7 separate regions of the Homo sapiens genome follow, and regions 2, 3, 4, 5, 6 and 7 are each linked to region 1. Evidence: promoter capture Hi-C in 16 types of primary human blood cells and fetal thymus (Javierre and others, 2016). All regions are on one chromosome and are shown on one strand. Each heading gives the region's core, a stretch centred on a gene start or on the middle of the fragment in contact. The rest is flanking DNA. Distances are from core to core; before and after follow the strand shown.

Region 1 (3,812 bases), core at 1,165-3,664:
ACAAAAACATGGATGAATCTTAAATGCAGCTATTACTATGTGAAGAAAATGAGTCTGAAAATGCTACATGCTGTATTATTCCATTTCTATGTCATTCTGGAAAAGTCAAAATTATAGAGATGGTAAACACATCAGTGGTTGCTAGAGGTATAGGAAGGTGGGAGGGTTTAATACTAGATGAAACAAAGGGGATCTTTTTAGAACTACAACTTTTCTGTATGACACTCTAATAATGGTGGATCCATGACACTATGTATGGATTTGTCAAACCCCATAGAAAGAAAATTTGAAGTTAAAAAAATTTTTACTTCTATCCCACTACTGACCAGCTGTCTGCTATTATGTACAGGAAAAGAAAAAAATAAATGTGCATTATGAGGATTGCACAAACAGAACCTAAACGGAGGAAGATTTTTTAAAAAATCTTAGGAACTCAAAGAATCCCAGGAGTAATGCAGATTGTGGCAAAAGATTACAACTGTATTACGAGCATATAAAATAACTTCACTGAGGCCGGGTAGAGGTAGGAGGGAGGGCTGCTGACTTCAGTAACTTTGAAAATAAGTGGAATCTATAAGATTAAAAGCAAAAGAACTATACATAAGCATTGTACTCTAATTGGTAAATCTGTTTCTCACAGGTATACCTGATAACAGTTCAGAAACAACTATACATGTACTCTGAATACGGGTTGACGGTTCTGAATCCATTATACACGTAACCTGGAATTGAACAATTAGGTAAATGGATGGCAGATGATGAGAGCCAGGTGTCTCACACTGGAGTGGAAGGCTACAGACAAGCAAGGGGAGAAGGCTGCAATGATCCATATGGTGCTGGAATTGAACTGAAGATAACAGCTCTAGTATTTGAACCTAGAACGCCTGTGTAGCTGTCAAAGATACAGATGGATACATATATAAATACTTACAGATATGCGTATTTAGTCAGGTTAGCATATCCACAAATATTTCCTTGCTCTGTCAGCTGAGAGTGTCTAGAAGCAACAACATCCCAAATGTCCAAATCTTGATTTCTAATATCATTTTCCATTAAAAGTACCCTTGGCTTTTTGGGGAAGCAGCTGATTCTAGGATTGGGGCAGGGAATATACAAGATGAGCCTGGAGCAACTTATAGAAATTAAGAAAATGCTCAAGAAAAAAAATCAATAAACATAAAACGAGGAGGGTTTGTCAAAAAGACACAAATGCCAACTAAAGGAAATCTCAATAGCCAAAGCTGGAACCAATATGAACAACAAAATAAAGTAGTATTGGATTATAACCCAAAATGTAAAATAAATATCCATGAGTCCATACTGACATAAATGATTGAATACATAAATAAATGCAGTACAGACAAATCTCCCATGCAGAAGAATTCCAAATAATTCATGAAGATATTCTGTCCTCATAAAGGTGGAGTATAACAATTTCCCATTCCTATAGTTTGGGCTGCACAGAGAGATGTCCTTCCAAATAGTATAGTATGGAGAGGAAAAGAAAAACAGTAACTTCACAGTGGAGAAACCTGACAAACCCTACATAGGGAGGTGGAAGGGCTTACTAGATGAAACAAAGGGGATCTTTGTAGAACTATAAAACTTTTCTGTATGACACTGTAATAATGGTGATAAAGGTTAGCATCAACAGTAATAAGTCATGTTGATAGTATATACCCTTGATGTGATGTGATGAGAAGATCACTTTACCTTACCTCTTAACTCAAGAAAAACCCATAACCTCAGTTAATGCATGAGAAAAATACAGGCAAAACCCAATTGAAGGACATTTGACCAAATGACCAATAAGTCGCTTCAAAACTATTAAGGTTATCAAAAACAAGGAAAGTTTGAGAAACGGTCACGGTCCAGAGGAGCCTGGAAGACATGGTGATGTACTCCGGACAGGATCCTGGAATGGAAAAGAATACCAGGTCGAAAACTAAGGACATCTGGAATAAAATATGGGCTTATGGGCTTTAATCAATTTTTAAAAAAGTATTAGATACATGAAAATGATACACGATTTACAAATCAATCGCCTAATATTTATCGAGCATATTGAGAGCCTGGCACTGTGGTAGGGCTGGGGACACAGAAAGAGGTAAGTGCCCTATGCTCAAAAACAGCGATTCATGAAAAATAAACAACTATGACAAAAAGAACAGAAGACTGTATCTCCTGGAGGCAGTAAGGAAGGCTTAAGTTGGGAGGACTATCAAACGCATCAAGGAGTTACTGAAGATTAACTGACCCGCCTAACGCAGGTCGGAAGCCCTCCTATCCATCCACCCAAATCACCCCTGCCCCACCTTTTCTCCTCCCTTGCGTTTACCCAATGGCAGGTCGGCTCCACGTAGGCCTACTTTGCGCGTGCGCATCATCGTTTCGACGCGCTCGGAAGCAACTTCCTTTGCCTGCTCACCGCCAGCGTAGGTGCTACCACCGCTGCCGTCGCCGCCGCCATTTTGATGGCAGGAAGAGTCCGGTTCTGGGACAGCTGGAGACAGTGGTGGTGACTGGTACGGATGGTTTCCGCCCATGTTAGCCCCTCCAAATTTGCCCGTGTTAGGGTTACAGCCCTCGGTATTGCCCGTATTTTCACTGGGTCCCTGTCGTTGTCCCCAGCCATCCTGTCCGTCTGTCTTTAGTCTCTTTTCTGCTTCCTCATCTTTCCGATCAGCCTGAAGCTTTGCTTGGAGCTGTTGTTACGCAGCCCCAACTTCTGTTAAAGCAGCCGCTTCGATCCTCTGGACTGAATTTTGGCCACCCAGCCCCCATTCCCCTCCCGGATCTGGTCCGAGTTGTTTTTCCGCGGCTGTAAACCGGAAGGGCTCTGAGCTGCACTGCCGGCTCCGGGCTGGGGGATCTGTGCCTGGCATGGGGGCGAGTTCTGGCCTCCTTAGGGTACGGGGAGAGCTTGGACTTTGGTCCTGACGTGGTGGACGACACACCTTCGAAGAGTGGACGTTACCTCAGTTGTCTGTTGTTAGAGTTTAATCGATCACTCGTCTGTTTTGTTGTGTTCTTTCCCAGAAATAACTTTACCAAAGGAAAGCTATTTTGCGAACTATCTTCTCCAGCGGAGATGGCCAATGTGAGTAAATTATCTCTTAAGAATCAGCATAGTAAACTCGTTTGGGAATGTTAGGAATGAAAGAACGGGTTTAATTATGATGGCATTGGGTGGTATAGTGTTAGATATAATGTATCAAAAATGTCAAGGGAAGCAAGTGGTGTGAAATTATGTTATGCTTTGAAGATGGTAGCATTCTTTGCACTGCAAATACACTTATTTATACAATTTCATTTGTACAGATGTGGAAATTCAAGCACCCTTTCGGTATTTTTTAAATACAGCGTTTCAGTAAATATTAGAATCTATGTTTAGGCCCTTTTTTAGCTTTTGGGTTAGCTAAACTGAAGGGTTTTTTTAATCTTTTTTTCTTTTTTTTAAAACAGTTTCCATATTGGAAGTGACCTTCTAAATCCTACAAAATAAGAATAGGAGATACTCTCACACACCAGAGATATTTATTGACTGTAACTTTGCAGTGATTAGACACATCCTATCTATAGAATTCATATGTAGCGGTCATAAGACATATATAAAAACAGCTACAATTAAAGTATAAAGTAATAATTTTTTTTAGAACCTACACGAAGGTGCAATGCAGATTCAAGTCTTTGTGGAGAGGAGTTTGGGATCACTTCATGAGGGAAACATTTAACTTGAGGTTTGAAAGATAGGTGGGATTTGTATAGTCTAAAATATGAGCGGGAAGGACAGGAAGGTATATTCAAAGAAC
Region 2 (3,351 bases), core at 724-3,223, 1.8 Mb after region 1:
AGGTTTTCACCTTAAAGTGAAAGGGGCATGATGAAAAGGTATGAAAGAGTCCTAAGTGAGACTGGAGAGAGAGGCTTTATAGTGGAATTGCCAGGGTTGAGTGCCCATTTGAGATTGGTGACTCCAGTCTACCCAGCTGTGTGATTATTTTCTGCAACGTAGAGGTGTTGGCAGGCACGGAGAAGGCAGATGATTGAGTTCTTACATGGCTGGATTTATTAAGTAAGTGATTTTGAGAAAGTGAGGGGTAAAGAAGTTATGGGAATTATATGGGAGCCATTGGAACAATGACTCACAGAATTTGAGTTGGACAAAAAGAAAGGACAGTCTAGAAGAGGCTATGTGGATAGAAAGAATTGATAGGAGAATGGATTAGATCAGGAGTCCCCAAGTCCCACATCGCAGACCTATACTAGTCTGTGGCCTGTTAAGAACCAGGCCGCACAGCAGGAGGTGAGCATCAGGCCAGCAAGCATTACCACCTGCGCTCCACCTCCGGGGATCAGCAGCAGCATTAGATTCTCGCCAGCCCTATTGTGAACTGCATATGCAAGGGATCTAAATTGTGCACTCCTAATGAGACTCTAATGCCTGATAACCTGAGTCAAACAGTTTCATCCTGAAATTATCCAATACCCCCATGGAAAAATTGTTTTCCACAAAACCGGTCCCTGGTGTCAAAAAGGTTGGGGACCGCTGGATTAGAGAACTGACATCAGTAGGAGGATCCATTGCTTCTTGGCAGATATTTAAGCAAGTGAGCTAGAAGGATAGGAGCTATGGCCAGAGACTAGAAATTAACAAGGTTTTGGAGAGGAATTGTGTCTGATAATGACAATGGCCAGGGAGTTACCATAGTAGTGATAGAAAAAATGGTCACTGGTGATGAGGTGGTCCAAGAATTGGGATGTCAAAGTATCCAGGGTGTTGGATGAGTCAATCTGTGCTGAGATAAAATTATCATAACATTTTAGGAATAATTATTATTTAATACTCTATTTCTAAAGAATTATAAATAAGAAAAGAAAAATAATAGGTGTAAGTTTAATATTATTTGGTATGAATGTAAATTTTTGCACTTTGGTGACAGAGAATGATATAGAGTACTTTTTACCATTTTTTTTTTTTAAAGCCTGTAAGGAAAGAGCGATTGTTTTTTCTTTTCTTTTTTTTTTTTTTTAATTTTTGTTTTCTTAGGCTTAACTACACTGGATTTGCCCACCTGTTTAAGAATGCAAATTAAACAAAACACTTAACTGCACTTTATTGTGCTTCATTTTAACTTAAATCAGAAGAATTTTAATCAAAGCCATACTGAAGCTTTAGGGGAAACTAAATTGTAGGAATGTTTGCAGTGATTTTAACTGGTCAAAATACATTATGTGCATTTCTTTATATTCAAAAGCAGTTATTATTAGCTACTCCTGAAATGAAGTAATAATTTTATCCTATTTTCTGCTGAACAAATACAAAGGTTAAATGGCTTGCCCAGGGGCACAAATTGAATCCGTAGCAGAAATGGGATTATAACTCCAAACTACTGACTCAAAGCTTAGTCCAATGAGCCATGCTGTTTCTCAAGTAGTAAGCATATTAATTGTTCCTTCAAGCAGGAAAAAGAACTCTAAATGGAGCATGTCCCATCCAGAAGACCTATGCAACACAGTAAAAAGACCTACTTCTTTTACTTAGTTAAAACAAACAAACAACAACAACAACAAAAAACAAAAACAAACAAACAAATAAAACCACCCCCCGGCCACAGAACTGTTAAACTTGCCTTTTTGTTAAAGAGGAAATAACTGGTATCAATTTGAAAAGTAATACAAAATAACTGTTACAGAAAAAGCACTAAACTTTATAGTTATAAAACCAAAAGAATGTCTGATATTGTTTTTCAATGCTATCATTGGACCTGGGTTACACAGAATGGTGAATTTGCTGTATCAGATAAACACCAAGATAATTCAGGCATCCAATTTACCCTTTGTTATTTAGGCTAATCATAGAAAAATAGCAATTGTACAAATTTTATTTATTATTTGAATAAATGCCTTCCTGACTCATTTCTCTTATTTCAAGTCCACCCAGGTACATAATTGTTTTTCACTCAATTTTGACTCTGTAATTTTAAAACCACAAATGAGAAGATTATTGAAAGTAGATTCTTTTTAAATTGCAAATTAAAAGTAAATAATTCTATTTCCGCTTCTGGCTATGATAGAATACTTTGTATTACATTAACTCTCCTATTATGAACAACTATTTTAAAATAATTTATTCAACAACTATTTGAAGCCACTAGAGAGGAACTAAGGAAGACAGTACTGGGGGGACAAAGAACCCAGAGAGGAGAGAAGTATATTGAATTGAGCCCCACATTCACCTAAGCTTTTCACTTTGGTACTTGCAGATACATGGCACGAGTAATAGAGGCTAAGAAGAAAGTAGCAGTCTGGGCTTATGTAGTTTCACTGGGTTAGGGAGACAGATGTTGGAGTTTGAGGTGCCAAAGTGATTAAGACTTGAGGAACTAAGGTCCAGGAGTTGAGAAAACCAAAAGGGAGTCCAAAATTCTGTGCAATATCCCTTCAAGGCAGTGCTGACTCCTCAACTATGCAGGGTGAAATGTAGAGAAATTAAGGGTAAAGGAGCAAGCTGGAGGTTAAAGAGTTTAGCCAAGATTTTGCCAATTTTGGAGACCTTGGGAACCAGAGATGGGAATTTGGGGACCACCAAGGAGGGAGAGTCCAAGTAAAATACCTCAGGATTTCAGATGAGAACTCAAGAAGACTATTCTTTGCAAAGTAAAGGCTAAGCTTTAAGATTTAGGACAAACTGGAAGTTGATGAGCCCCCTAAAATCTGAAATCCAACATGACTAAATTGGTATGATAAATCCATATATTATACGACTGATGGAGCAAGTTATATTCTTTCTGGAAAAAGATAACTTAATGGAGAGTTTTTGCAATTTTTCACAATACCCAGCATTCATTAAAAAATTACCAGCCACGTAAAACATAGGGCCAAATGGAAATGCTGTAACCAAAATTAGAAGAATTATAATAAATTAAAATATGGGTATATAGTAGATCAAGCACGGCAAAAAAAAAATAATGAATTGAGAGGAAGGACATAGTAAATACTCAGATTTAAGGATAGAGAGTAAAAAGGATAGAAAATACAGAAGAGATCATAAGAGATATGTAGGACAATTTAAGTTCTGACGTATCTGTAACTGGAATCCCAGAAGGATAGGAGAACATTAATTGAACAAAAGCAACATTTGAAAAGCTGTTGGCAACTAATTTTACAAAACTAATGAAAGAAATCTAGTCATGAATTCAAG
Region 3 (3,842 bases), core at 287-2,786, 1.9 Mb before region 1:
TGGTAACATGAAAAACAAGTGTTGCTACTAAAAGGAAGTTGATCTTTCTCCTTGGAATCAATTTTTCAGACATTTATGTACACTGAAAAACTATATCCAGAAATTCCCTGACAGAATGCTGAGGTGAGGTGACAGCCATTATGTCAGGAGACTGGTTACATACAAGTGAATGATCAAGTTGTAAATACATTGAGGGTAATGAAAACCAGGTTTCTCACTATTAGAGACAGTAGAGAAAAATACAGAAAAGGAATGAATAGCATAATCCATGTGATATTAGATGGTAAATGAAAGTGTATCTAGAGAAACAAGCAATAATTGTGCCACAGTAAGTATTTAGTAATTAACCTTACAGTGGAAAACCTGGCAGATGCCATCCTCAAACAAACAGGAAGTGTTAACATCACCAGTAATGGGAAAATAATGAATTGAAAAAGAACTACAGCATTATTTCTGTGGTACTCCAGTAATGAATGGACCCTGAATCTAATCTTAAAGCAATATGGTAATCCCAGATTGAGAGACTCTAAGAAAGTAAAATTGCCTTTTTTTTTTTTTTTTTTTTTTTGAGACAGAGTCTAGCTCTGTTGCCCAGGCTGGTGGAGTGCAGTGGCATGATCTCAGCTCACTGCAACCTCTGCCTCCTGGGTTCAGGAGATTCTCCTGCCTCAGATTCCCAAGTAGCTGGGACTACAGGCGCGCACCACCATGGCTTGCTAATTTTTGTATTTTTAGTAGAGACAGGTTGTAGCCCTGTTGGCCAGGCTGGTCTAGCACTCCTGACCTCAGGTGATCCACCCACCTCGGCCTCTCAAAGTGCTGGTATTACAGGCGTGAGCCACTGCACCCAGCCTAAAGTTGTTTTTTGAAAGACATAAAAGACAAGACTGAGGAACTGTTCCAGGTTGTCAACTTGTCTAAAACTATACCTTAAAATGGTTCAGAAGGGAAAAAGAATAAAATGTATATTCTGGGGGGAGGGGGGAGCAGATAAGATAAATGCAATCAACCATTAATTGAGAAACCTGAGTAAAGGAATACGAAGTTTCCACATAAACTCTTGCAGTATTTCTCTAAATTTGAAATCATCACAATGTAAGTCACCAAAAAATCCCAAGGTGATCCTGATAATAACAATTTCCTTTCGGTTAGTCTTAACATTGTTTCCTCTTCTCAACTTCTTTTAAAAATCTCCCCATTACCCAAATTTTACAGCAAGAGAACTCTGGCTCTGTTTTGCATGGACACGGAGTGGAAAAGACATTTGTAACTGTGGGTTCCTGAATTGGATATTCGGTTAAATCTAATTTCAGAAGTACCAACATAGGTAAAATTATGTCAAAATGAGACTGATCATCTTCGCTCTATGAAACTTCAGTGGCTTATAATTTCTGACATCATCTGTTATATAATCTTGGTAAACTTATGATTTTCAGAGATAAGCCTATTTTTCTGACACACTGAGGTAATCATATTAGGTCCTGGTCAGACCAAGAGGAGAGCTAAGATCAGTATGTCAAGAACATCTATAACCTATATTTCCACGGCACTCAGGCCGGGATGCTCTGACCTATAATATACTTCAGGAGCTTAACATGTTACTCCATATTGCTACTTAGTAAAAATTCAAAAACCAAAAAAGATTCTAAGAATGTTTTAGAAAACTCATCAATGGCAAATCTTATTGTTAGATAATTTTATGTCCCTAATCTTTAAACAAGAATAATATATCTCAACATCAACTAACATTTTTCATTAATGACAGATTATCACTACCTATATGGTAAGAACATATAAACATAGGTGGATATATCTGACTTCAATGAATCAATTAACAGATTTTAAAAACTATTTGCTACAAAATAACTTAAAACTAACCAAGGCATATGGTTTTAAAAATCACGCAACTTGTTATGATCCCAATTGTCCAATTTTAATCATTTAATTACCATGTTTCAGGTAAACGATGAGTTAAACTTTGTAACATTTCTGGAAAAAAATAACCAATTAACTGATCCCATTGTTTTCTTTTAAATTATAATGTCAATTCAATGACTATTTTAAATCAGGCTTGCAAATAAAAACATTTTAAGTTATGTCTAAGTTTCTTGTCCAGGTAATCCTTCATACCAGATGGAATGAGTAAAACCATTTGTACTATTAGGCAATCTCTAATTAGAATAGTATTTATCTTTCTGCGTTGTAAAAAGGAGTAAAGAAATTTTGTGTGATAGAGATAAGAGAATGATACAGAGCATATGAAAATTAAAAAGAAAAAAGAGAGAGAACATGTATGAAAGCTCCTAGCATAGTAACTAACATGGTTAAACAAGATCAAAAGTTAGTAAAATGAGGTGGCAAAGGTATTAGGACTTCCCCTGGCAAAGTTCAGTACTGCTTATGAAATACTGGACAAACAAAGGTTAAAAAATACATACTTACATTTAACTTTGGGCTGATATTTAATATTATATGGTGAGAAGTCAATGCAATCAACCATTACAGTAATAATATAAATAATTCTATCCACGAACAACAAATTCTAGGGAAGAAAGTACCACTGTTAGAAACATTCAAGTACTGGGACAGTATTCAACAAAAGTAAGCAACATGAAAAAATATAAGACTGTTACTCCCATATATCCTATGTAACACACATGCCACAGCTTACAGTACATTAAGTGCAGCCACCCACGGCTTAACAGAGATCCACTGTGAAAAATGGGTCATCAGGCAATTTCATCTTGTGAGAACACAGTGTACCCACACAAACCTAGATGATACAGCCTACTACACACCTATATAGTCTGTTGTTCCTAAGCTACAAACACATAGCCTAGGCACCTGTATAGGTGTGTAGTTACTATACTGAATACTCTAGGCAACTGTAACAAAATGGTATGTATTTGTGTATCTAAGCATCGAAAAGACACAGTAAAAATACCGTATTATAACGTTCTGCTTAGGATATGTAGCACTAGATTTGCGGTCTGTTGTTGACTGACACATTGTTATGAGGCGCATGACCATACATGATTACAAATCTTTTTCAGTTAACTGCTGAGTCAAACACTGTACTTTCTCTTCCTCAATATTTAAGAAAAATAATTCACTTTTAAGATCCCCATAAAAGCCATCATATCAACCAATAAACTGAGATTGGAAATACTAGGATCACAGATTCTCTATCAAATTCCTCTTGAAAATTATGAAGTAAAAGTTTTCACTAAACCCAGTGGAAACAAAACATAAAAAGAAGTTGCTGGCCAGGACTGGTGGCTCACGCCTGCAATCCCAGCACTTTGGGAGGCTGAGGTGGGTGGATCACCTGAGGTCTGGAGTTCGAGACCAGCCTGGCCAACATGGTGAAACCCCGTCTCTACTAAAAACACAAAAATTAGCCAGGCGTGGTGGTGAATGCTTGTAATCCCAGCTACTCGGGAGGCTGGGGCAGGAGAACTGCTTGAACCCGGGAGGCGGAGGCTGCAGTGAGCCGAGTTCACACCATTGCACGCCAGCCTGCGACAGAGCGAGGCTCCGTCAAAAAAAAAAAGAAAGAATTATTGCTCAGGATGGTGTTTTTAAAGACACATTTGACACAAATTTTCAAGAAGGTGTAATAAATTTCAAGCTAGTAGAATTTAAGAAAAAGGCAGTAACAAGGAACACATTACAATGAAAACATCAGTAGTCATTAATCTCTAATGTATAACAATATGGCATCAAAGTATTTAATAAACATGTTAATATACAGCAAATTCATAATCAGGGAGATACCTGATCCCAAGTGTCTTATAAATAAACAATTATAAAACTACATTATCACAGTTATAACACAGGAT
Region 4 (3,343 bases), core at 728-3,227, 1.9 Mb before region 1:
TTAAATAAAATATAGAATTTTTTTAAAAAAAAGAACACAATTTTCTGGCTGGGAGCAGTGGCTCACCCCTGTAATTCCAGCACTTTGGGAGGCCAAGGTGGGTAGATCACTTGAGGTCAGGAGTTCAAGACCAGCCTGGCAAACATAGTGAAACCCCCTTCTACAAAAAACACAAAAATTACGGTGCCTGTAATCCCAGCTACTCGGGAGGCTGAGGCAGGAGAACTGCTTGAGTCCAGGAGGTGCAGCTGCAGTGGGCCGAGATCATGCCCCACCTGCACTCTGGCCTGGGTGACAGTGACACTGTATTTAAAAAAAAAAAAAAAAAAAAAAGGATACAATTTTCTTAAGTGTTCCTAGGACGTATGGACCACTGATTGAGAAAATACTAAGTTCAGAAAGTTAACTTTCTGAAAATAATAAGTTCAGTAACCACATGACTCAGCAATTCCACTTCTAGGTATATATACAAGAGAAATGAAATCATCTATCCATATAAAAACTTGCAGACACAGCAGCATTATTCGTAATAGCAAATGGTGGAAACAACCCAAATGTCTGTCAACTGGATAAACAAAATGTGGTATATACATATAATGCATATTATTCAACCAAAAAAAGTCCAGGACCAGATGAATTCACAGCCGAATTCTACCAGAGGTACAAAGAGGAGCTGGTACCATTCCTTCTGAAACTATTCCAATCAATAGAAAAAGAGGGAATCCTCACTAACTCTTTTTATGAGGCCACCATCATCCTGATACCAAAGCCTGGCAGAGACACAACAAAAAAAGAGATTTTTAGACCAATATCCTTGATGAACATTGATGCAAAAATCCTCAATAAAATACTGGCAAAACGAATCCAGCAGCACATCAAAAAGCTTATCCACCATGATCAAGTGAGCTTCATCCCTGGGATGCAAGGCTGGTTCAACATATGACAATCAGTAAACGTAATCCAGTATATAAACAGAACCAAAGACCAAAACCACATGATTATCTCAATAGATGCAGAAAAGGCCTTTGACAAAATTCAACAACACTTCATGCTAAAAACTCTCAATAAACTAGGTATTGATGGGACGTATCTCAAAATAATAAGAGCTATTTATGACAAACCCACAGCCAATATCATACTGAATGGGCAAAAACTGAAAGCATTCCCTTTGAAAACTGGCACAAGACAGGGATGCCCTCTCTCACAACTTCTATTCAACATAGTGTTGGAAGTTCTGGCCAGGGCAATCAGGCAAGAGAAAGAAATAAAGGGTATTCACTTAGGAAAAGAGGAAGTCAAATTGTTCCTGTTTGCAGATGACATGATTGTATATCTAGAAAACCCCGTTGTCTCAGCCCAAAATCTCCTTGGGCCAATAAGCAACTTCAGCAAAGTCTCAGGATACAAAATCAATGTGCAAAAATCACAAGCATTCATATACATCAATAACAGACAAACAGAGAGCCAAATCATGAGTGAACTCCCATTCACAATTGCTTCAAAGAGAATAAAATACCTAGGAATCCAACTTACAAGGGACGTGAAGGACCTCTTCAAGGAGAACTACAAACCACTGCTCAATGAAATAAAAGAGGACACAAACAAATGGAAGAACATTCCATGCTCATGGATAGGAAGAATCAATATTGTGAAAATCGCCATACTGCCCAAGGTAATTTATAGATTCAATGCCACCCCCATCAAGCTACCAAGGACTTTCTTCACAGAATTGGAAAAAACTACTTTAAAGTTCATATGCAACGAAAAAAGAGCCCGCATTGCCAAGTCAATCAGAAGCAAAAAAGACAAAGCTGGAGACATCATGCTACCTGACTTCAAACTATACTACAAGGCTACAGTAACCAAAACAGCATGGTACTGGTACCAAAACAGAGATATAAGCCAATGGAACAGAACAGAGCCCTCAGAAATAATACCACACAGCTACAACCATCTGGTCTTTGACAAACCTGACAAAAACAAGAAATGGGGAAAGGATTCCCTATTTAATAAATGGTGTTGGGAAAACTGGCTAGCCATATGTAGAAAGCTGAAACTGGATCCCTTCCTTACACCTTATACAAAAATTAATTCAAGATGGATTAAAGATTTAACTGTAAGACCTAAAACCATAAAAGCCCTAGAAGAAAACCTTGGCAATACCATTTGGGACATAGGCATGGGCAAGGACTTCACGTCTAAAACACCAAAAGCAATGGCAACAAAAGCCAAAATTGACAAATGGGATCTAACTAAACTAAAGAGCTTCTGCACAGCAAAAGAAACTACCATCAGAGTGAACAGGCAACCTACAGAATGGGAGAAAATTTTTGCAATCTTCTCATCTGACAAAAGGCTAATATCCAGAATCTACAAAGAATTATTCAACCTCAAAACGGAAATTTTTGAGGATAAACCTTGAAAACATTATGCTAAGTGAAAGAAGCCATTCACAAAAGATCACAAGTTGTACGACCCCACTTTTATGAAATATCCAGAATAGGCAAATCTATAGAGGAAAAGTAGGCATTGGCTGGACAGTGGAAATGAGGAGTGATAGCTAATGGGTCAGTGTTTCTTCTCTGGGTGATAAAAAAAAAGATTCAAAATTAGATCATGGGGAATATTATTTAACTCTGTGAATATATTAAAAACTAACTGCACCCATAGGGTAGGTGAATTTTACACGATGTAAATCATATCTTAATGAAGCTGTTAAAAAAAACCTAATTCTCATAGACTTTCCCAAGACCCATGGAAACTGAGTAAGAAAATACTTTAGAAACTAAATTCAATCTGTGAGACAGAAAATTACTAGTAGTATTGGTTTTCTGAGTAACCAGTTAATGAATGTTTAGAAGATCACAAATAAGTTAATATAAAATCAAGGACCTTCAAGAATACAGCAGAAGTCTTCAGTGGCTGGCAAACCCCAGGTCTGAGAAATTCTGATTCAGAACACTGCTTATTCTATTTTTCATTTATTCAAAACTTCTGATACAGGTTGAGTATGCCTACTCCAAAAATGGAATCTTTTTTGGATGGAATGGAATCCAAAATTTGAAGCTTTTTGAGCACTGACATGATGCCCAAATTCTCTAATGAGCGTTTTGGATTTACAGATTAGGGCTGCTAAACTGGCAAGTAGCTGCATAATGCAAATATCTCAAAATCGAAATAAATCTGAAGTCCAAAACATTTCTGGTCCTAAGCAATTCAGATAAGGAATACTCAACCTGTAGTGTCAATGGATAGAGGGTCTCTGAATGGGTTTCAGTAGTCTGTGAATCCTTCTGAAATTATATACAAAATTTTCTATATAGTTTTACAGCAGGGAAGAATC
Region 5 (3,855 bases), core at 745-3,244, 1.8 Mb before region 1:
CTCTTTGTGAATTTATTTTTATTTTTATATTTTGAGACAAGATCTCGCTCTGTCACCTAGGCTGGAGTGCGGTGACCCAATCATAGCTTATTGCAGCCTTGAACTCCTTGGCTCAAGCAATCCTCCCACTTCAGCCTCCTAAGTAGTTGGGATGACAGGCATGTGCCACCCAGCCCTGGTAATTTTTATTTTTTTTGTGTGGAAATGGATCTTGCAATGTTGCCCAGGCTGGTATTGAACTCCTGACCTCAAGTGAGCCTCCTGCCTCTGCCTCTGAAAGTGCTGAGATTATAAACATGAGCCACTGTGCCCAGCCATGAATTTTAAAAAAGTAAATATAGTAAGAAAAAAATGGCTAGGTGTAGTGATGCTCACCCTTAGTCCCAGCTAATTGGGAGGCTGAGGCAGAAGAATCTCATGAGCCTAGGAGTTTGAGGCCAACCTGGGCAACATAGTGAGACCTCCAGCTCTAAAAAATAAAAATAAAAATAAATTTTAAAATTAAAAGAATTGTAATGTAATTAATTGTACTTTTAAAAATATTTTTATTTTATCTTTTAAGGCATAACATAACAAGTCTTTTGTGCACACGCCTATTTTTTGTTGTTGTTGTTTTTTGAAATGGAGTCTCACTCTGTTGCCCAGGCTGGAGTGCAGTGGCACAATCTCGGCTCACTGTAGCCTCTGCAATTGTTCAAGAAATTCTTATGCCTCAGCCTTCTGAGTAGCTGGGATTACAGGCATGAGCCACCACGTCTGGCTAATTTTTGTATTTTTAGTAGAGATAGGGTCTTGCCATGTGGGCCAGGTTGGACTTGAACTCCTGACCTCTGGTGATCGACCCACCTCAGCTTCCCAAAGTGTTGGGATTATAGGTGTGAGCCATGGCACCTGGCCTATGTCTATGTATTTTGACAAATATATACACATTTATATTACAAACAGCCCTATCAAGATGGTAGGGACTTTGCCCTGTGGTGTCACCATATGTCTTCAGGGCCACAAGCACTTAGAATAATGGATCCCATAAATTCTGCTTGGAAAATCATTATACAATTTCATGATCGCAAGAGACTTTAAAGTCACTCTAATCCACTTAAAAGGAATAATTTATAATTATTCTGTATACTGCCTTTACTGATTTTAAACTAATACCCTAATCCTAATATTTTAAGATTTGATGGAGATATTCATGTTTGTTTTTCCAAGTCATTCATCATTTAACAGATTTCAATATGTTATAAATTGTCATAAGAAAAACAAACACATATAAAACAAAACAAAAACGCTGTCTCAGAATCAGTGGTTTGCAATATGACCTAGAGGGAAAGCTAGGAAGAAGCCCTGGTTAATTTTAATTCCATATCAGGTAAGTGTCTAATGTCTAGAAAAAAGATGCTCCCCAGCCTTTCTATGCTCCTGTTCTGCTTTGATGAAATAAAGCAGAACAGGAGCATAGAAAGGCTGGGGAGCAACAAATGAAGGTCAAGGATCTAGTTCAAGCTTGGTGACTACTCTACACTTCATTTTCTTCATTGGTAAAATAAATGTAGCCATACCTTTCCCATTATCTATCACACAGGGTTATTCTAAGGATAAAATACAGAAAATAATTTAAGGATGTTATGCAACCCATAAGCTATTCTTACTGTATAATAAAATATACAACACATAGTTTGTATGTCTGCATAAGGATGTACATTGCCAGCTTTAGGAGCGAGTTGTTCCATCCCATAGCATCCAATCTTTGTTGTATATATTAATAGATTAGAAAAAATTCAAATATTGAACTAATTTGGCTGCCTATTTGGCTATATTTATTTAGATCTATATTTTATGTTATATCTAGTTACTGCCTCATCTATTATTTAGAATATCAGCTCTAACTTGGTGACATTGATTAATCAATAATGATTGCTTTATTTTTGTGAAGCCATTATTTTTTTTTTTTATTCCAGTGATGTTTCAGTGAGCTGTTCCCCCAGTGCTAGTTCAGGCGGTCAAGTCTCCTTCAAGTTAACCACATCCTAAATAGTCAGCATACCACCAAATCCAAAAGCGAGCTAAATGCACTGAGAATTGGGTAAAAACAAATCTCCCAGGATTCTGTATTCCCAGAGTGTATTCAGCCTCTCTGAGAAAAGAAAGCAACTTATAATAATTTATAATTTAGGATTATATTCTTATGAAAGGGCAATGAAATACTGAAAGGACCATTTCATTGGCACTTCTTCAATGACTCTAGAGTTTAATCTATGGAAATTATCCAGTGGAAGCTCAGAGATCCTAAAGTTTATCAAGTGAAAGAAGAATCAGAGAATACATTTGAAAAGAAGAGTTACTCTTAAGAGTAAAAAAGAGTGGTCTGCATAAATATATTTAAGAAAATGTAAGAGAGGGAGGGAGGAAAGGAAGATACATATTGTTGACATAACTAAATATAGGACTAAATTAGTACTGTATAGTATAGGACTAAATAAGCTTAAAGCATGTCAAAGTGACTTGAAAGTTAAAGTTACATAAATGCACTGTTAAGTATTTATTCCTATTTTGTCTCAGTTAAGACTAGTTGTAGCTGTAGGCAAAAATCTTTCTACTTGGACTACACATAATTTTGAGATATAGGTTAGTTACAGACATGAGAAACTATTCTCCAAATGTTAATATAATTAAATAATAGATTTTATAATAATACACTAAAACCTCACTATGTAACTCTCCTACTGTGTTATGGAATTTCTTATAGGGTAAATCCAAATGGGACACATCTGAGGATGTTTATGATCCTAAATGCCAGGAAGACTTTGTAACATACTGTAATATTTTGTAACATTGTCCTGGTGGAAATATACCCAAAAAGAACAGCCTACTTTTTCTCCAAGAACGTGACCTAAGAATAATTCTTTATAGTAATTATGAGTTAATTTTCTCATTATTTCCTAGTTGCAAGCAAACATGGAAAAAATATGAATAAAAATATATGGTATAATGATAGCTAGTATATACAGTATATAATTGTTAAACCATAGAATTAGAGTTGCTTAGTTTGGAAGTACTAGCATATATACACAAAAAGAAATTAAGGAAAGAATTTATTTGTTTACTTTGTCTCCTTTTCCCCGTTGTATCAAAAGGACAATTTTGAATAGTTACCATTTGGTAGCATCACTTTATTGTTTTAGCTAATTTACTGTGACAAGTTTTTAATCTGCTTTTTTATTTTCTTTTTCTTTATGGCTGGGAAGTTCCCTGGCACAGAGAAGATCTGAATTCTCAGTCCCATCTGCCTAATCATTATTGACTCCTGATTTGGGGTTACTTAATTCTCTAAGTTTCAATTTCCTGATTTCTAAAATAGGTATAACAATAGCTCCTTGAAGAATTATTGTGAATATTAAGTTAGAGTGTAGACGAAGGAACACAACTCAATGTCGGGTATAGTATAAGCACTTTATGAATTGTAGTTATTAGTAGTAGTTATTATTACCAAAATCAATTATTTCTGGAAAAAGTAGCCATTTCTTTTTTAACAACCTCTTAGCAGCATGGAACTGTTTTTGCAAAACATAAAATTATTATTTTTAACACACCGTGTGGGTTGTAGCAATAGGCATCCCATCTTTCACTCCTATTGAGACGGATTCCATAATCAATAATGCCAGTTTTTCCAAATCCACAGTTGGGCCCTGGCTTCACAATGGGGTATCCAACTCTGCCCTTAGCCATCCATCCAGCAGCACAGACATGAAATCCTGCAAGAAGAAAAAGAGTTATGGACTAAACAGGTAAACTGTCTTGGCTAAGCAAAAGTCATCTTAGCAAAGATAGCCACTTCCAATAGTAAGTTTCTTAACT
Region 6 (3,868 bases), core at 26-2,525, 1.8 Mb before region 1:
AGCAGAAATCGTGCCACTGTCCTCCAGCCTGGGCGACAGAGCAAGACTGTCTCAAAAAAAAAAAAAAATTTTCCCAAAAGACTCCAAAAGGAAAACTGAAGCATATAGCAAATCCGAGTGAGTTTTTACAGTAAATGCTCTAATACAAACACTCAGATTCTACCATTAACACTTTACTATGTTGGTCTTATCACCTATCTGGCCATCCTACCATCCATCAATCCAACTTTTTTTTTCTACCAATATACTTTACCCTAAAAATGTCAGCATGCATATCATTAACTAGTTTAAATGACACTGTATTTTTTCACAATAATGAAAAAATACATTAATAGCTTCATAATCAACAGACACGTGAAATAATTTTTAGCTCAAATTTATATAAAGAATTTCATATATGCTTTGTTGCAAGCTTGATAAATGGGTTAAAGAAAGAATTTTATGGTCAGGCGCAGTGGCTCATGCCTGCAATCTCAGCACTTTGGGAGGCCGAGGCGGGCGGATCACAAGGTCAGGAGTTCGAGACCAGCCTGGCCAATATGGTGAAACCCCATCTCTACTAAAAATACAAATATCGGTCGGGCATGGTTGCAGGTGCCTGTAATCCCAGCTACTCCTGCTGAGGCAGGAGAATCGCTTGAACCCAGGAGGTGGAAGCTGCAGTGAGCTGAGACTGCGCCACTGCACTCCAGCCTGGGCAACAATTGCGAAACTGTCTCGAAAAAAAAAAAAAAATTATATATGTCACTAAAATTGAATTCATCAGAATAAAGCTATTTATGAGACACTCGAGTTACTGTGTCATACTGAACATTACCACGAAGTCTTCTGCATTTTAAGCAAGTAAAATCCCAGGTTTTAGGGGCTGGGTGTGGTGGCTCACGCCTGTCATCCCAACACTTTGGGAGAGTGAAGTGGGAGGATTGCTTGAGCCCAGGAGTTCGAGACCAGCTTGGGTAATATAGTGAGACCTTGTCTCAAACAAAAAACAAAACAAGACCTTCAAATATGGCTTTCCATGTAATCTAGAGTAAAAATCCATCCTTACAATGGTCCCTGCCATAGTCCTATGTGATTGGGCCCTCTTTTCCTCTCACTCTCATTCACTCCACTACTGTCATACTGCCCAGAGTTCCCAGAACACCAACCAGGTACACAACCATTAGAGCAGGGCCTTTTGCCCTCATAGTTCTCTTGTCTGGTTCTTTATCTACATGGGTAACTCCTACTCTGCCTTCAAATCACTGTTCAAATGTCCTTTCCTTTGCCTTCTCTGACCACCTTACATTCCTTTCTCACAGCACTCTCCGGTCCTTGCTCTTCTCCTTAGTGGTCTTCACTTACTACACTATGTACTTAATTATCTCTCCCACAAGAAAATAAGCTCCATCAAGCCTCTTTTGTTCACTGCTATATTCACAGCGCCTGCAACAATGCACTGCACATATCAGATGCCCAGTAAATATGTTAGAACAACAATGGTTAGAAAACCTAAAACCTGTGGCAAGTAATAACTAGAAAACTATAGAGACTAGGTAAGTTTATGTACATTAAATTTGTATCTACTGGGATTATACAGTAACAACCCAAACATGAGTCAATCAGTTAATGCTCTCCCTCTTTCAGAAATACAATTCCTATTTCCTATTTATTGGGAATGAAGTAAAATGTCTGGATTTTAGCAACAATAGATAGCTCCCTTCCTTACTACTATGTAATGAGCAATGTGCCTTTGCTAACTTATGCAACTCTTAAGGTTTTGATTCAAAGCTAAAATCCTATATCATAGTGCAACTATACCAATATGCCCAGACAGATTTTTTTTTTTTTTTTTTTTTGAGACAGGGTCTCATTCTGTCACCCAGGCTAGAATGCAGTGGTGAGATCATAGCTCACTGCAGCCTCAAATTTCTGGTCAAGCAACCCTCCCGCCTTAGTCTCCCAAGCATCTGAGACTACAGGCGCATGCCACCACGCCCAGCTAATTTTTAAGATATTTTGTAGAGATGGGTCTTCACTATGTTGCCCAGATGGGTCTGGAACTCCTGGCCTCAAGCAATCCTCCCACCTCAGCCTCCCGCTTTGGGACTACAGGTGAGAGCCACCGTACCTGGCCACCAGACTGAATTTTAAGCTTAGTGCAGAACCTTCCGATGCAGTATCCAGAAAATTCTTACATAAAAGAACACTCACAGTAGTCATAAGCTGCTCCGTAATAGATGCTATTTCTTGCTGTTTCTGAAGCAATAATGGCATTCCCATCTCCAGAGCAGTTGCTCCCCGCAAATGTACCTTTTGTGCTGAATGAACCACTAAAGGTATGACCAGTTTTGCCCACCTCACTGCCTCTTCTCCCATTTGAATTGGGGCTTGTTCAATTAGCCTATAATAGAGAAATCAATGAATAATTAGCGTGACCTCATGTTTTAAGTCTAAACAAGCAGTAAAATAGGTGAAACAGAAATATACACAGTACGGCCCATTTGTTTTAGAATATATACAAATATGCATATACACACAAGAAATAGATCTTATTTTTACGAATTTGCACATTATTGCTTTTGTAAATTTTTTTTAAAGAACCAATCTTGTCTTTAGATTGAAACATTTCAGTCATCCCTCAGTATCCCTGGGGGATTGGTTCCAGGACCTCACAATAATGCTCAAGTCCAATATGAAAAGGACAGTATTGTCATTCACCACAGAGCAACGTTTTGGTCAAAGATGCAGCACATTCACAATGGTGGTCCCATAAGATTATGAGGGACCTGACAAGTTCCTATCACCTAGTGACATCATAGCTGTTGTAACACTGCAGTGCAATACATTATTCATGTTTCTGATGACACTGGTGTAAACAAATCTACTGCGCTCTCATTCATATAAAAGTACGGCGCATTTACATATAGAACATAATACTGTACTATATGATAATGATAATAAATGACCGGCCGGGTGCAGTGGCTCACACCTGTAATCTCAGCACTTTGGGAGGCCGAGGCGGGTGGATCATGAGGTCAGGAGATCGAGACCATCCTGACCAACATGGTGAAACCCTGTCTCTTCTAAAAATACAACAATTAGCTGGGTGTGGTGGCACATGCTTGTAATCCTAGCTACTTGGGAGGCTGAGGCAGGAGAATTGCTTGAACCCGGGAGGCGGAGGTTGCAGTGAGCCAAGACCTCACCACTGCGCTCCAGCCTGGTGACAGAGCAAGATTCCGTCTCAAAAAAAATAGTAATAAAAAAACAAAAAATAAATGACTAAGTTACTGGTTTATGTATATACTACACTATAATTTTTATCATTAGAGTTTACTCCTACACTATAATTTTTATCATTAGAGTTTACTCCTACTTGTATTTAAAAAAAGTTAACTGCAAAGTAGCCTTGAGGGTCCTTCAGCAGATACTCCAGAAGGTAGCATCAATCACAGAAGATGACAGCTCCATGCATGTTACTGCCCCTGAACACATTTCAGTATGACAAGATGTGGAGGTGGGAGACAGTAGAATGATCCTGACCCTGCAGAGGCCCTAGGCTGATGTGTTATGTTGCTAACCAAAAAGTTATGAAAGTTAAAAAAAAAAAAAAAAAAAAAAAGAATTTAAGGCTCCTAGAATAAGGATCTAACGAGGGAAAATATGTTTGCACAATTGTATGTTTGTGTTTTAAGCTAAGTATTCTTTTTTTTTTTGAGACCAAGTCTCACTCTGTCACCCAAGCTGGAGTGCAGTGGTGCAATCTCAGCTCACTGCAACCTCTGCCTCCCGGGTGCAAGTGATTCTCAATGCCTCAGTCTCCCATATAGCTGAGATTACAGGCACGCGTCACCACGCCCGGCTGATTTTGTATTTTCAGTAGAGA
Region 7 (3,787 bases), core at 131-2,630, 1.8 Mb before region 1:
TGGCGAAACCCCATCTCTAATCTCTACTAAAAATACAAAGATTAGCCGGGCATGGTGGCACGCACCTGTAACCCCAGCTACTCGGGAGGCTGAGGCAGGAGAATCACTTGAACCTGGGAGGCAGAGGTTGCAGTGAGCTGAGATAGTGCAACTGCACTCCAGCCTGGGCAACAAAGTGAGACTCTGTCTAAAACAAACAACAACAACAACAACAACAACAACAAAACAGATAATAGACGAAAAAACTTTTTTATAATTATTTCATCCTATCACTAGTTCATATATAATGAATATACATAGCTAATAACATGCCTTATGACTAGCATGAAATTGTCTATCCTTACTTTCAAATTTCACAGTGTCATCAAATTGTATTAACTGGCCAGGCATGGTGGTTGGCGCCTGTAATCTCAGCACTTTGGGAGGCCGAGGCAACCGAATGATTTGAGGTCAGGAGTTCCAGATCAACTTGTCCAACATGGTGAAACCCCGTCTCTACTAAAAACACAAAAATATGCTGGGCACAGTGGCTCATGCCTATAATCCCAGCACTTTGGGAGGCCGAGGTGGGTGGATCACCTGAGGTCAAGAGCTCAAGACCAGCCTGGCCAACATGGTGAAACCCCATTTCTACAAAAATACAAAAATTAGCTGGGCATGGTGGTGCACACCTGTAATCCCAGCTACTCAGGAGGCTGAGGTGGGAGAATGGCTTGAACCCAGGAGGTGGAGGTTGCAGTGAGCTGAGATCGCGCCATCACACTCCAGCCTGGGCGAGTGACAGAGCGAGACTCCATCTCAATAAATAAATAAATAAACAAAAATTATCTGAGCATGGTGGTGCACACCTGTAGTCCCAGCTACTCAGGAGGCTGAGGCAGGAGAATCGCTTGAACCCAGGAGGCAGAGGTTGCAGAGCTGAGATGGTGCCACTGCACTCCAGCCTGGGCAACAGAATGAGAGACCATCTCATAAAATAAGAAAATAAAAGATAAAAATAAATTGTATTACTTAGGCACAGTGGCTCACGCCTGTAATCCCACCACTTTGAGAGGCTGAGGTGGGCAGATTGCTTGAGTTCAGGAGTTCGAGACCAGACTGGCCAATATGGTGAAACCCTGTCTCATCTCTACTAAAAATACAAAAGTTAGCCGAGTGTGGTGGCCAGCGCCTGTAATTCCGGCTACCTGGGAGGCTGAGGCAGAGAATTGCTTGAACCTGGGAGGCGAAGGATGCAGTGAGCTGAGATCATGCCATTGCACTCCAGCCTGGGCAACAGAGTGAGATTGTCTGAAAATAAAATAAAATAAAATAAAATAAATTGTATTAACCAAGCAGAGCTTTAGTCCTTTAACAGACCAAAGGCCTTATCTAGACAAACAGTTTCACTCTCTCCATTGAGTTGGGCAGAGAGTTCCTATCATTTATGGCCAAACTACTTTTTAGGTGCGAAAATTGAGTCCTCTTGAGTTCATAGTGTAATGACTAAACCTGGAGCTTGATTGAGAAGGTTTGAATCCTGGCTCTACCACTTATTAGCTATGGGACTAATGTGTGACTGTGGCAAGTTACTTGACCTCTTATGCCCCTGTTTCCTTATCTGTAAAATGGGGGTAGTTGCACTAACCTCATAGGCTTCTGAAGAGTATGTAAGTTAATACATACATGGAATTTGCTAAGAACAGTGTGTGGGCATGTGCTATAAATCTTCAGGAAAATGTTAGCCATTCAAACATTATTTCTTGGGTTTAAATAGAACAACACATTTCAAAACCATGAATCCTTCTAAATAAAGAAGCATTTTTCAGGCCGGGCGCAGTGGCTTACGCCTGTAATCCCAGCACTTTGGGAGGCTGAGGCAGGCGGATCAGAATCTCAGGAGTTTGAGACCAGCCTGGCCAACATGGTGAAACTCTGTATCTACTAAAAATACAAAAATTAGCCAGGCATGGTGGCAGGCACCTGTGATCCCAGCTACTCCGGAGGCTGAGACGGGAGAATCGCTTGAACCCAGGAGGTGGAGGTTGCAGTGAGCTGAGATCGCACCACTGCACTCCACCCTGGGCAACAGAGCAGGACTCCATCTAAAAATAAAAATAAAAATAAAAATAAAGAAGCACTTTTCCATTGAAATGGGTTTCCTAGACCACATTAAAAATATGGGACACTCATGCCTGTAATCCCAGCACTTTGGGAGGCCGAGTCGGAAGGATTGCTCGAGCCCAGGAGTTTGAGACCAGCCTGGACAACATAACAATACCCTGTCTCTCTCTTTTTTTTTTTTTTGAGACGAAGTCTCGCTCTGTCGCCCAGGATAGAGTGCAGTGGCATGATCTCAGCTCACTGCGACCTCCGCCTCCTGGTTTCAAGCGATTCTTCTGCCTCAACCTCCCAAGTATCTGGGATTACAGGCATGCGCCACCATGCCCGGATAATTTTTGTATTTTTAGTAGAGACGGGGTTTCACCATGTTGGCCAGGCTGGTCTTTAATTCCTGACCTCAGATGATAGGCCTGCCTTGGCCTCCCAAAGTGCCGGGATTACAGGTGTGAGCCACCATGCCTGGACTTCCCTGTCTCTTAAAAAAAGGGACTACAATCTATCAGTAATAATTTAATGTTATATTTCTGAAAGTGTGGTTCTGGGATCATTGCGTCAGAAAATCCCAGGTTAGCTTCTTTATATGTAAATATCTGGACCATACCTCTCAGGATAAGCCTACTAACCTACATTTTTGATATGCAGTCTAAATTATTCTTGGCAGCACCAAAGTTTGAGATTCCTGCTATGTTCAAGGCACACGTTTTCTATAACTTTGATAAAATAGTTCAACTATTAAATTTATTGTAATTGGAATACAAATATCAGTTTCCAAAAGAACCCAACTATGTATGGCACAAATTCTTTGTCTCCATCTAAAATATATTCATGGAGAGAAAACAAAAATTTTCAGAAGTTCAAGAGCTACAAAACTATGAAAACTGAACCTTGAGGAGCCAAAAGGGAAGCCTAACTCATTGTTATGCTCAGGCCTTCTGGAGAAAGAACATAATCACGCACTTTAGAAAAATGATCCAGTTTGAAGCTGGGTGCGGTGACATGCACCTGTAGTCCCAGCTACTCAGGAGACTGAGGTTGGAGGGTCCCTTGACCCCAGGAGTTTGAGGTCAGCCTGGACAACATAAAAAGACCTAATCTCTTTGAAAAAATGAAACAAAATAAAACAAGAAAAGAAAGCAAATCCAATTTGACTTCATCATCAGGGCTACTCATAGGCAGGATTAATCACTCTCTCTTGATCACTGGTTGAAGAAAATATTTCTTAAACTGCCTATTCTAGTAGACTAATATAATTGAAAAATTAAAATCCTCTAACTGTACTGTGGAAAAAACAGAATTTTGACCTAAATTTGTAAGCCTGATAATCTGCAGTCATAGGATATTGGTAGAAATATAAATTAGTGGCCGGGTGTGGTGGCTCATGTCTGTAATCCCAACACTTTGGGAGGCCGAGGCAAGTGGATGACTTGAGGCCAGGAGTTCAAGACGAGCCTGACCAACATGGTGAAACCCCATCTCTACTAAAAATACAAAATTAGCCAGACATGTTGGCACATGCCTGTAATTCCAGCTACTCAGGAGGCTGAGGCAGGAGAATCGCTTGAACCTGGGAGTTGGAGGTTGCAGTGAGCCGAGATCGCGCCATTGCACTCCAGCCTGGGCGACAGAGCGAGACTCCGTCTCAGAAAAAAAAAAAAAAAAAAAAGAAAGAAGTGTAAATTAGTAT

Evidence for each region. Contacts are between HindIII fragments. The CHiCAGO score rates a contact against its expected background, and 5 or more counts as called.
Region 2: a fragment that was not itself captured here is called in contact with the fragment with the promoter of MMADHC in region 1 in 1 of 17 cell types (naive B cells); the score reaches 7.8 in naive B cells.
Region 3: a fragment that was not itself captured here is called in contact with the fragment with the promoter of MMADHC in region 1 in 3 of 17 cell types (total CD4 T cells, total CD8 T cells and naive CD8 T cells); the score reaches 11.1 in total CD4 T cells.
Region 4: a fragment that was not itself captured here is called in contact with the fragment with the promoter of MMADHC in region 1 in 1 of 17 cell types (total B cells); the score reaches 5.1 in total B cells.
Region 5: a fragment that was not itself captured here is called in contact with the fragment with the promoter of MMADHC in region 1 in 9 of 17 cell types (naive CD4 T cells, naive CD8 T cells, monocytes and 6 more); the score reaches 9.9 in naive CD4 T cells.
Region 6: a fragment that was not itself captured here is called in contact with the fragment with the promoter of MMADHC in region 1 in 9 of 17 cell types (naive CD8 T cells, total CD8 T cells, naive CD4 T cells and 6 more); the score reaches 17.7 in naive CD8 T cells.
Region 7: a fragment that was not itself captured here is called in contact with the fragment with the promoter of MMADHC in region 1 in 12 of 17 cell types (naive B cells, total B cells, naive CD8 T cells and 9 more); the score reaches 16.5 in naive B cells.

Annotation. Positions count from the first base shown.
Region 1 is chr2:149,586,377-149,590,188 of GRCh38, reverse strand. MMADHC (metabolism of cobalamin associated D) reads left to right here and starts at 2,414. Exons shown (of 8, transcript NM_015702.3): 1 at 2,414-2,525; 2 at 3,040-3,100. The coding sequence starts at 3,092. It overlaps MMADHC-DT (MMADHC divergent transcript), which reads right to left and starts at 2,831. Exons shown (of 3, transcript NR_110240.1): 1 at 2,339-2,831. RefSeq lists enhancers at 2,368-2,687, 2,004-3,203. The HindIII fragment of the contact is 5,011 bases long and covers 1-2,695 here.
Region 2 is chr2:147,834,530-147,837,880 of GRCh38, reverse strand. No RefSeq gene overlaps it. Among named protein-coding and RNA genes, the nearest start is that of ACVR2A, 8.8 kb to the left of the region's middle. The HindIII fragment of the contact is 840 bases long and covers 1,554-2,393 here.
Region 3 is chr2:151,450,306-151,454,147 of GRCh38, reverse strand. It overlaps RIF1 (replication timing regulatory factor 1), which reads right to left. Exons shown (of 36, transcript NM_018151.5): 21 at 2,443-2,542. Among named protein-coding and RNA genes, the nearest start is that of RIF1, 42 kb to the right of the region's middle. The HindIII fragment of the contact is 5,678 bases long and covers 1-3,842 here.
Region 4 is chr2:151,470,283-151,473,625 of GRCh38, reverse strand. The region is part of intron 34 of RIF1 (replication timing regulatory factor 1); the gene reads right to left. Among named protein-coding and RNA genes, the nearest start is that of RIF1, 62 kb to the right of the region's middle. The HindIII fragment of the contact is 2,183 bases long and covers 886-3,068 here.
Region 5 is chr2:151,365,953-151,369,807 of GRCh38, reverse strand. It overlaps TNFAIP6 (TNF alpha induced protein 6), which reads right to left. Exons shown (of 6, transcript NM_007115.4): 3 at 3,591-3,752. It overlaps MIR4773-1 (microRNA 4773-1), which reads right to left and starts at 1,474; the gene lies at 1,397-1,474. It overlaps MIR4773-2 (microRNA 4773-2), which reads left to right and starts at 1,397; the gene lies at 1,397-1,474. All of the region lies in intron 2 of LOC101929319 (a long non-coding RNA gene), which reads left to right. The HindIII fragment of the contact is 978 bases long and covers 1,506-2,483 here.
Region 6 is chr2:151,418,705-151,422,572 of GRCh38, reverse strand. It overlaps RIF1 (replication timing regulatory factor 1), which reads right to left. Exons shown (of 36, transcript NM_018151.5): 7 at 2,194-2,383. Among named protein-coding and RNA genes, the nearest start is that of RIF1, 11 kb to the right of the region's middle. The HindIII fragment of the contact is 1,722 bases long and covers 415-2,136 here.
Region 7 is chr2:151,397,917-151,401,703 of GRCh38, reverse strand. No RefSeq gene overlaps it. Among named protein-coding and RNA genes, the nearest start is that of RIF1, 10 kb to the left of the region's middle. The HindIII fragment of the contact is 8,122 bases long and covers 1-3,787 here.